Regions from separate parts of the Homo sapiens genome. Here region 2 is linked to region 1. The links are contacts of gene promoters, found by promoter capture Hi-C in human tissues and cell types (Jung and others, 2019). All regions are on one chromosome and are shown on one strand. The core of a region is centred on a gene start or on the middle of the fragment in contact, and the rest is flanking DNA. Distances in the headings are between cores, read along the strand shown.

Region 1 (2,959 bases), core at 96-2,595:
GACAACTGAAGAAAGTGGAAGTGAAGACTCAGGGGACATGATTACTATCTTCAGATATCTTAACAGCTTCCCATAAGGGAAAAGAACTAGGAAGGATGGGAGCCAGCTGTTTCTTTCAACTTATAACCAAATGTGTCCAGGAACAGAATGGGTTTCCTTTAAAGAGATTCGCTTCGGATCACTGGAAGAGGTTCCAAACGGGCTCGTCAAATTATCGGGGGGATTTGGGGATTTTCAAAGTCACTTTGGCATGGGATGGGAGAAAGCGCCCCTAGATGACTTTTAAATTCTCTTCCAGTCAGGAGATATTCCGGGGTTCACCCATCGGCTGGATACCACTTTCGATGCTCTCGGGCTGGCACACAACTGTGCCCACGTGTCTGGCCCCCAGGGCCGCTGTGGCTCACTTCGGTGCGGGGCCGCTCTCCCTGCCCGTTTCCGGCGGGGCACTGGGGCAGGCGGCACACGTGAGTCGGCCAGCCGGGGCCCAGCCCCCAGGACGCTGCTGACAGCTCCGGGCCCTAGGCGCCCCAGCTCTCGGTGGGGGCCACGCCGCCCCGTCGACCTCTGTCTCTGCCTTCCCCGAACCGGGACCCGGCCAGCCAGAATCACAGGCATTCCCACCTCTGGCGCCGGAGGGGACCGACTGACCCGCGCAGACGGGGTCGCGCCGCCGCCCGGCCCTCGGCCCCCAGCCAGCCTGCCCCGGCCCACCCGGCCCCGCCGGCCAGACACGGCGACCTATACGGACCGCCCCCACGCCGACCCTCCAAAGGGCCCCCGGCCTTGGGTTTCCCGTGCCGGGGCCCCCGGGCAGTCCTGGCGGCGTCAGGGCCGCGACCGGACCGTGGGCCCCGCCCGCCCGACCGCAGATGCAGAGCCGGCCTCCGGGCTCGGGGCCGGGCTGACACGGCCGAGAAAGGGCCCAGCCCCGCGCGGACCACAGACTGGCAGGCCGGCCAGACAGACGGACAGGCTGACCCCGGCCCGGGGGAGCAGGCGCAGCGGCTGCGCAGGTCCCGCCACCGCCTTCTGGCCCCAGGCGGCCCCTCAGGGCACGAGCTCTTAGGCGGGCGGAGGCGGCCGCGAGGCGCTTACCTGAGGGCGCGGCGGGGGCGCGGGGCGGCTCACTCTCTTCCCGCCGCCATGTTTCCGCTGCGCAGGGAGGGAGCGGAGACGCGGGAAGGGGGCGGGCGGGCGGCTCGGGAGAGCGGCGGGCGGGCGGCGGGGGGCTCCACCGAGCTGGCGGTGGCGGCTGAGGCGGGGGGCGGGGCGGGGGCTCCCCCGGCCCCTCCCCCGCGCCTCCCGCTGCGAGGTGGCGCGCGCCTCGGCCGTTGGGCTCGCGCGGGGGGCGGGGCGGCGCGCTGGAGGAGGGAGGGCGCGCGGGAACCCGGCCCGGCCGTACCCCGCCGGCCTGCCGACCCGGGTCCGGGGGCCCAGTTGGCGCCCGGACCAGCTCTCCGGTCTGCGTCCTGTAGATGGGAAAACTGAGGCCTGAGAGGGCGCGAGGGCGGGGACGAGGCCGAGGACTCGGGTTCGAATCTCGAGGACGCCAGTAGCCCGCTCTGAGGCCGCGTGGGGCTGGTGGAGGAGCCACCGGTCGGGCCCCCAAGACCGGCTGACGTGGGCCTCGCCTCGGGCGACTCCCGCCGGGCTAGTGGCTGGCCGTGTGGTGACCTTGGGCGAGTTACTTCGCACAGCCACCCAGGGGCCTCTTCTCCAACACGATAGCACTGCACCCGGAGGGTAGGTGAGAGATGAGTTGGTGCTTGGATGCCCTAGGGAGTGTCAGCGTCCTCGGTCCTCCCTGTGGTGATCCCTTCAACGAGTACGCACTGAGCCCGTGATGGGCCAGGTACAATGCACAGGCTCATTCTTCCAGGCCCACCAGCCATGTTGGCTACACAATTCTATTTTTGTTTTGTTAGAGATGGAGCCTCACTTTGTCCCCAAGGTCGGAGTGCAGTGGCGCCATCATAGCTCACTGTAACCTCAAATTACTGGGCTCAAGTGATCCTCCTGCGTCAGCCTCCCAAAGCGCTGGGACTACAGGCGTGAGCCACTGCGCCTGGCACACAATTGGTTTAACCACCACATCATTTTAGCAGCTTAGGAAACTGACGTCTTGACTTCTGTTTTGGCTGCTTGAAAATACAGTGCAATATAAATCCCGAGACCTCTGCTGAGCTGGATGTGGAGTGGGTGTGGGCATCATTTAGAACATGGCAATCCTCAGGTCACACAGGAATGTCTTGTTAATGATCCTTCTGTGAACAATGTTCCTTGGAGGGAAGTCCACTTAAGCAAGGCTGGAGCAGCAGATGGGGCAGCTGAGCCTGGATTACTTGCCTTGCCTCTAGAATAGGTCTTAGAGCTTTGGACTGAAGGGGGGCCGCCTCCTTGTATCCTGGTATTGGTGTCAGTATCCGTCTGCCCATTCTTGAGAAATGGAAATGGTCAGAATCTATCCAGGTTCTGATCTGCATCCCTGTTGTCTAATTTAAACTTTCATTCCATGGCGTTTTGGGGAGTACCTGTCTCATGAAGAGCCCTGAGGTTACAAGGATAATTAGAGCCTAAATCTAAGGAGCCCATATTTGGGGAAACTATTATGTCAATAGCTAATGAGAGCACAGTGTTGTAAGTGCTCATATTAGTTTTCTATTCCTGCATAACAAATTGGCACAAATTTTGCAGCTTAAAGCAACACCCATTGATTTACTCACAGTTGTGTAGGTCGGAAAACTGGCATGGTGTGGCTGGGTTTTCTGCTCGTGGTGTCATAGGCTGAAATCAAGATGTCTAGCACCTCCACGAGGGAAAGGTCTGCCCCAGGCTCCTTCGGGCTGTTGGCAGAATTCATGTCCCTGTAGGACTAGGATCCCACAGCTACACTGTTTTGCCAGCTCTCTGTTGGGGACCACTCTCAGGTCCTTGCCACGTGATCCCTTTTATCTCA
Region 2 (3,406 bases), core at 866-3,365, 260 kb before region 1:
GCCGGCGAGCTGCCGGCTCCCGCGCGCGGGCCTCGTGGCCGGGCGGCGCTGGGGAGAGGGGCCAAGCGGGGCGCGGGGCGGCTTCAGAGGCTGCGGGGCCTGCGCTGCCGCGCTGGGCCGCGCCGAATCAGCTCGGCCGGGCTCGTCGGACGGAGAAGGCCGTAGGGGAGTGGAGCGGCGCCCCCCCCCACACCCTCCGCCCTTGCTCTTCGTCTGCGAGGAAGCCCGGCAGTCGCCCATCCATTCAAGCAGTGCGGGCCTCGGGCCTCCGGCCTCGGCGCGGGCTCAGCCGCCCGGGGCTGGGCGCGGCAGCTCCGCGCCGTAGGACGAGGGGGCCTGCGAACTCGCCGGCCCTGGGCCCCGCGGCTGGCCTTTGGGCCTCACGGCTTCCTCCCTTCCCGGCGGCCGGGGGTCGGGGCGCTGGCGGTGTATAGAGCTCACCACGTTTGCGTGGCGCCCTTCCGTCCACGCTCGTTACAGTTTCGAATCCTCAGCGGCCCTGTGACGCGGGCGGCGCAGAGATTCTCACCCCCATTCCCCTAGGTGAGAACCCGCGTTGCAGGCAGCTCAAGTGACATGATTGAGGTCTGCACACTAGTGATGGGGGCTGGCACTTCATCTCATAACATTGAAAGAAAAAGCATTTCCCCCCTCAGTCTTTGTTGAATTTCTCTGATGCGTCTTGATTTACGTTACTTCTGTGCCGGAAAACCTTCTTGCGCCTTCCGTCACCTTCAGGATTAAGTTCAGATTGGGCATGCCAGTTTGCACATGATCTGGCCCTTGCCTACCTTTCCAGTTTATCTTCCACTGTATATCCCTGCTTCCCCGCCTTCCCCCTCACGGCCTTACCTCTGTTCTCTGTAGCTGCCCTGCACCTGCCTGTTCACCCTGTTCCCTTTCCTGTGCTCTGAGTCGTGCAGTCAGTCCTTCAAGGCCCATTGCAAGTCATATCTACAAAACAGGAGCCGCCTGGATCCGCCCACTACCCCCAGGACTTGTCTCACCTTCCTCTGATGGCCATGGTACTGAAAGCGTCTGCTCTCATCGTCCCCCTTTATAGTCTAAACATGTTTTCTGTCTGCTTCCACCGTCACTGAATTACTCATTTATTTGTTAATGTTTCATCTCTCCAACTGGACTGCCAGAAAGTTGAGATATGGGCCCAAATCTGATTAATGTTTGCAGTCCCCAAGCACAGTAGCTGTCATGTAAGTCAGTAGCCCATAAGGATGAATGAATGAGCCTCCCGCCTGATCTTTATGTACACTGGCATATGTATTGCCAGGCACTGAGACTGCAAGAATCTAAAGAGAGAAACTAAAGAACGTAAAGAGAGATGTTAAACTCTTAGAGTAAAATTGGGACAAATCAAATGTAATTGGATGAGATGAATCTTTTGTAGAAGTAACTCACTCGGTGGCAGAGGAATTTCTAGGATCATCCAAAACTTAGGGAGACCAGGGTATAGTCTCAGTAAGGTATATGTCTGGTTAGAACATATCTAAAATGTACCTAAGACTGATTTTCATGTGTCAATAAGGAACTGTAAAGTGAGAGACTTAGGGTCAGATAAGCTTGGAGACACCGCATACTGTATAGCAGTGATCACAGTGCGAGTTTACTTGCTAAACACTCCCAGGATTCTTGCGTTAAATGACTTGGTTTAATCAGCGTTTCTCTGATTTATATCCATAACACCCTTTTTGAGAATCCCATGTGCATTTTGTTGAAACCAGGGAGCATGCTTTTGGAAATGCTGCAGCAGAGGATGCAAAGAGCCTTTGGAGCGGGGAAGACTTCTGAGCATTCTTCCTTCCCTGCCAAGTGTGTTCTTTCTTGCTCTGGGGAGGGGGTGGGGCGGGGGAATGCTTCGAGCACAACTCCTTAGTTTTCTTGTTCCTTAGTTTATTTTTATCATAATTTGGCTTCACATGGAACGTTCCTGAGGAGGAAAATGTCCTGACCATGCCAAAGTAAGCATTTTCTGCTACTTTCTAATTGTGTTTTTCATTTTGGTCACATTTGGGTTTGCTGACCAAATGGACGATCCTGGACCTCTGAAGCTGGGGACCAGTGATAAATCCTCCGTGGTGAGCCTGTCACGGTCTCCTCACCTCTTGTCGATGCTGTTTTCACCTGCATCTTGACTCTGCTGCCCTTATATCTTATTTCTCCTTTCCCTGCCACCGTGGCACTGCTTTTTGGATTTAATCTCATCTCCCCTCTCTTTGAGTCCTCTGCCCGTCATGTGCTTCAGACTGGTTTCTTATCTGATGTCCCTCTCCCCCAGTATTTACAGTCTCTCTTCATTGCATGCCTGGGAGAGATTTCTGACAAGGAGCAAGTTGTTGTTAAATTATAGAAGAGAACTACTTTTTCTTTTTTTTTGAGGTAGTCTTATTCTGTCGCGCACGCTGGAGTGCAGTGGCATGATCCCAGCTCACTGCAACCTCTGTCTCCTGGGTTCAAGCGATTCTCCTGCCTCAGTCTCCTGAGTAACTGGGACTACAGGCGTGCGCCATCACAGCCGGCTAATTTTTGTATTTTTAGTAGAGATGCGGTTTCCCCATATTGGCCAGGCTGGTCTCGAACTCCTGACCTCAAGTGATCCTCCTGGCTCTGCCTCCCAAAGTGCTGGGATTACAGGCATGAGCCACCATGCCCAGCCAGAGAACTACTTTTAATTAAAGGAATTTTGGTTTAGCTGCAACCACTTTTAAATGTTGATGTTCTTTCCTTTTAGTCTATCTTTTGTAACCTAGAGGAGCTGTGTTTTCTTGATGATATGTTGTAGTTTAGCCAAAGACATTATTTATTTCCTGGAGAACTGGAGTACTTATCCAAGTTTGAATTTTTTTCCCATGTAGGGAAAATAATGAGGCACCTGCCTGGTATCCCAGTGTCTGGCAGTGATGTCAGCAAACATTTGGGGTGTAGTGTTCTATCAGCCAGCTTAGAGCTGGTTTTATTAGGTTGACTCTGAAGGTTATTAGTTGTCAAAGCTTTAAACAAAAGCTGTGTTATTAGAGTAGCAGTTGTTTTTCTACACGTATTTGACTAAAGCCATTCAGTGATCCAAGAAATGTTTGTTTTGATCCTATTTAAACCTGACGAGAACCTTCTGAAGTCCTGTGACAGAGAAACTGAGGCTTCAAGAGGGTTCATAGCTAATAATTGGCAGAGCCAGTGTTTGAACCCAGATGAGTTTGGTTTGTTGAGATACATTTATATCATCTGTAATTTTTCCTTCTTCCAGGTCAAAGAGTAAAATGAAGTACATTCTGGTTACTGGTGGTGTTATATCAGGAATTGGAAAAGGAATCATTGCCAGCAGTGTGGGCACAATACTCAAGTCATGTGGTTTACATGTAACTTCAATCAAAATTGACCCCTACATTAACAT

The links. The method cuts DNA at HindIII sites, captures the fragments that hold promoters and counts their contacts. A contact is called where the count stands out against the background at its distance.
Region 2: a fragment that was not itself captured here is called in contact with the fragment with the promoter of SCMH1 in region 1 in 1 of the 25 tissues and cell types used here (fat).

What each region holds. Positions count from the first base shown.
Region 1 is chr1:41,240,961-41,243,919 of GRCh38, forward strand. It overlaps SCMH1 (Scm polycomb group protein homolog 1), which reads right to left and starts at 1,346. Exons shown (of 16, transcript NM_001394311.1): 1 at 1,099-1,346. It overlaps SCMH1-DT (SCMH1 divergent transcript), which reads left to right and starts at 1,398. Exons shown (of 3, transcript NR_186015.1): 1 at 1,398-1,746. RefSeq lists an enhancer at 1-86 and silencers at 407-566, 667-1,216, 1,257-1,656. The HindIII fragment of the contact is 24,810 bases long and covers 1-2,959 here.
Region 2 is chr1:40,980,019-40,983,424 of GRCh38, forward strand. CTPS1 (CTP synthase 1) reads left to right here. Exons shown (of 19, transcript NM_001905.4): 2 at 3,260-3,406. The coding sequence starts at 3,273. Among named protein-coding and RNA genes, the nearest start is that of CTPS1, 2.0 kb to the left of the region's middle. RefSeq lists silencers at 1-216, 287-426 and an enhancer at 627-676. The HindIII fragment of the contact is 3,158 bases long and covers 537-3,406 here.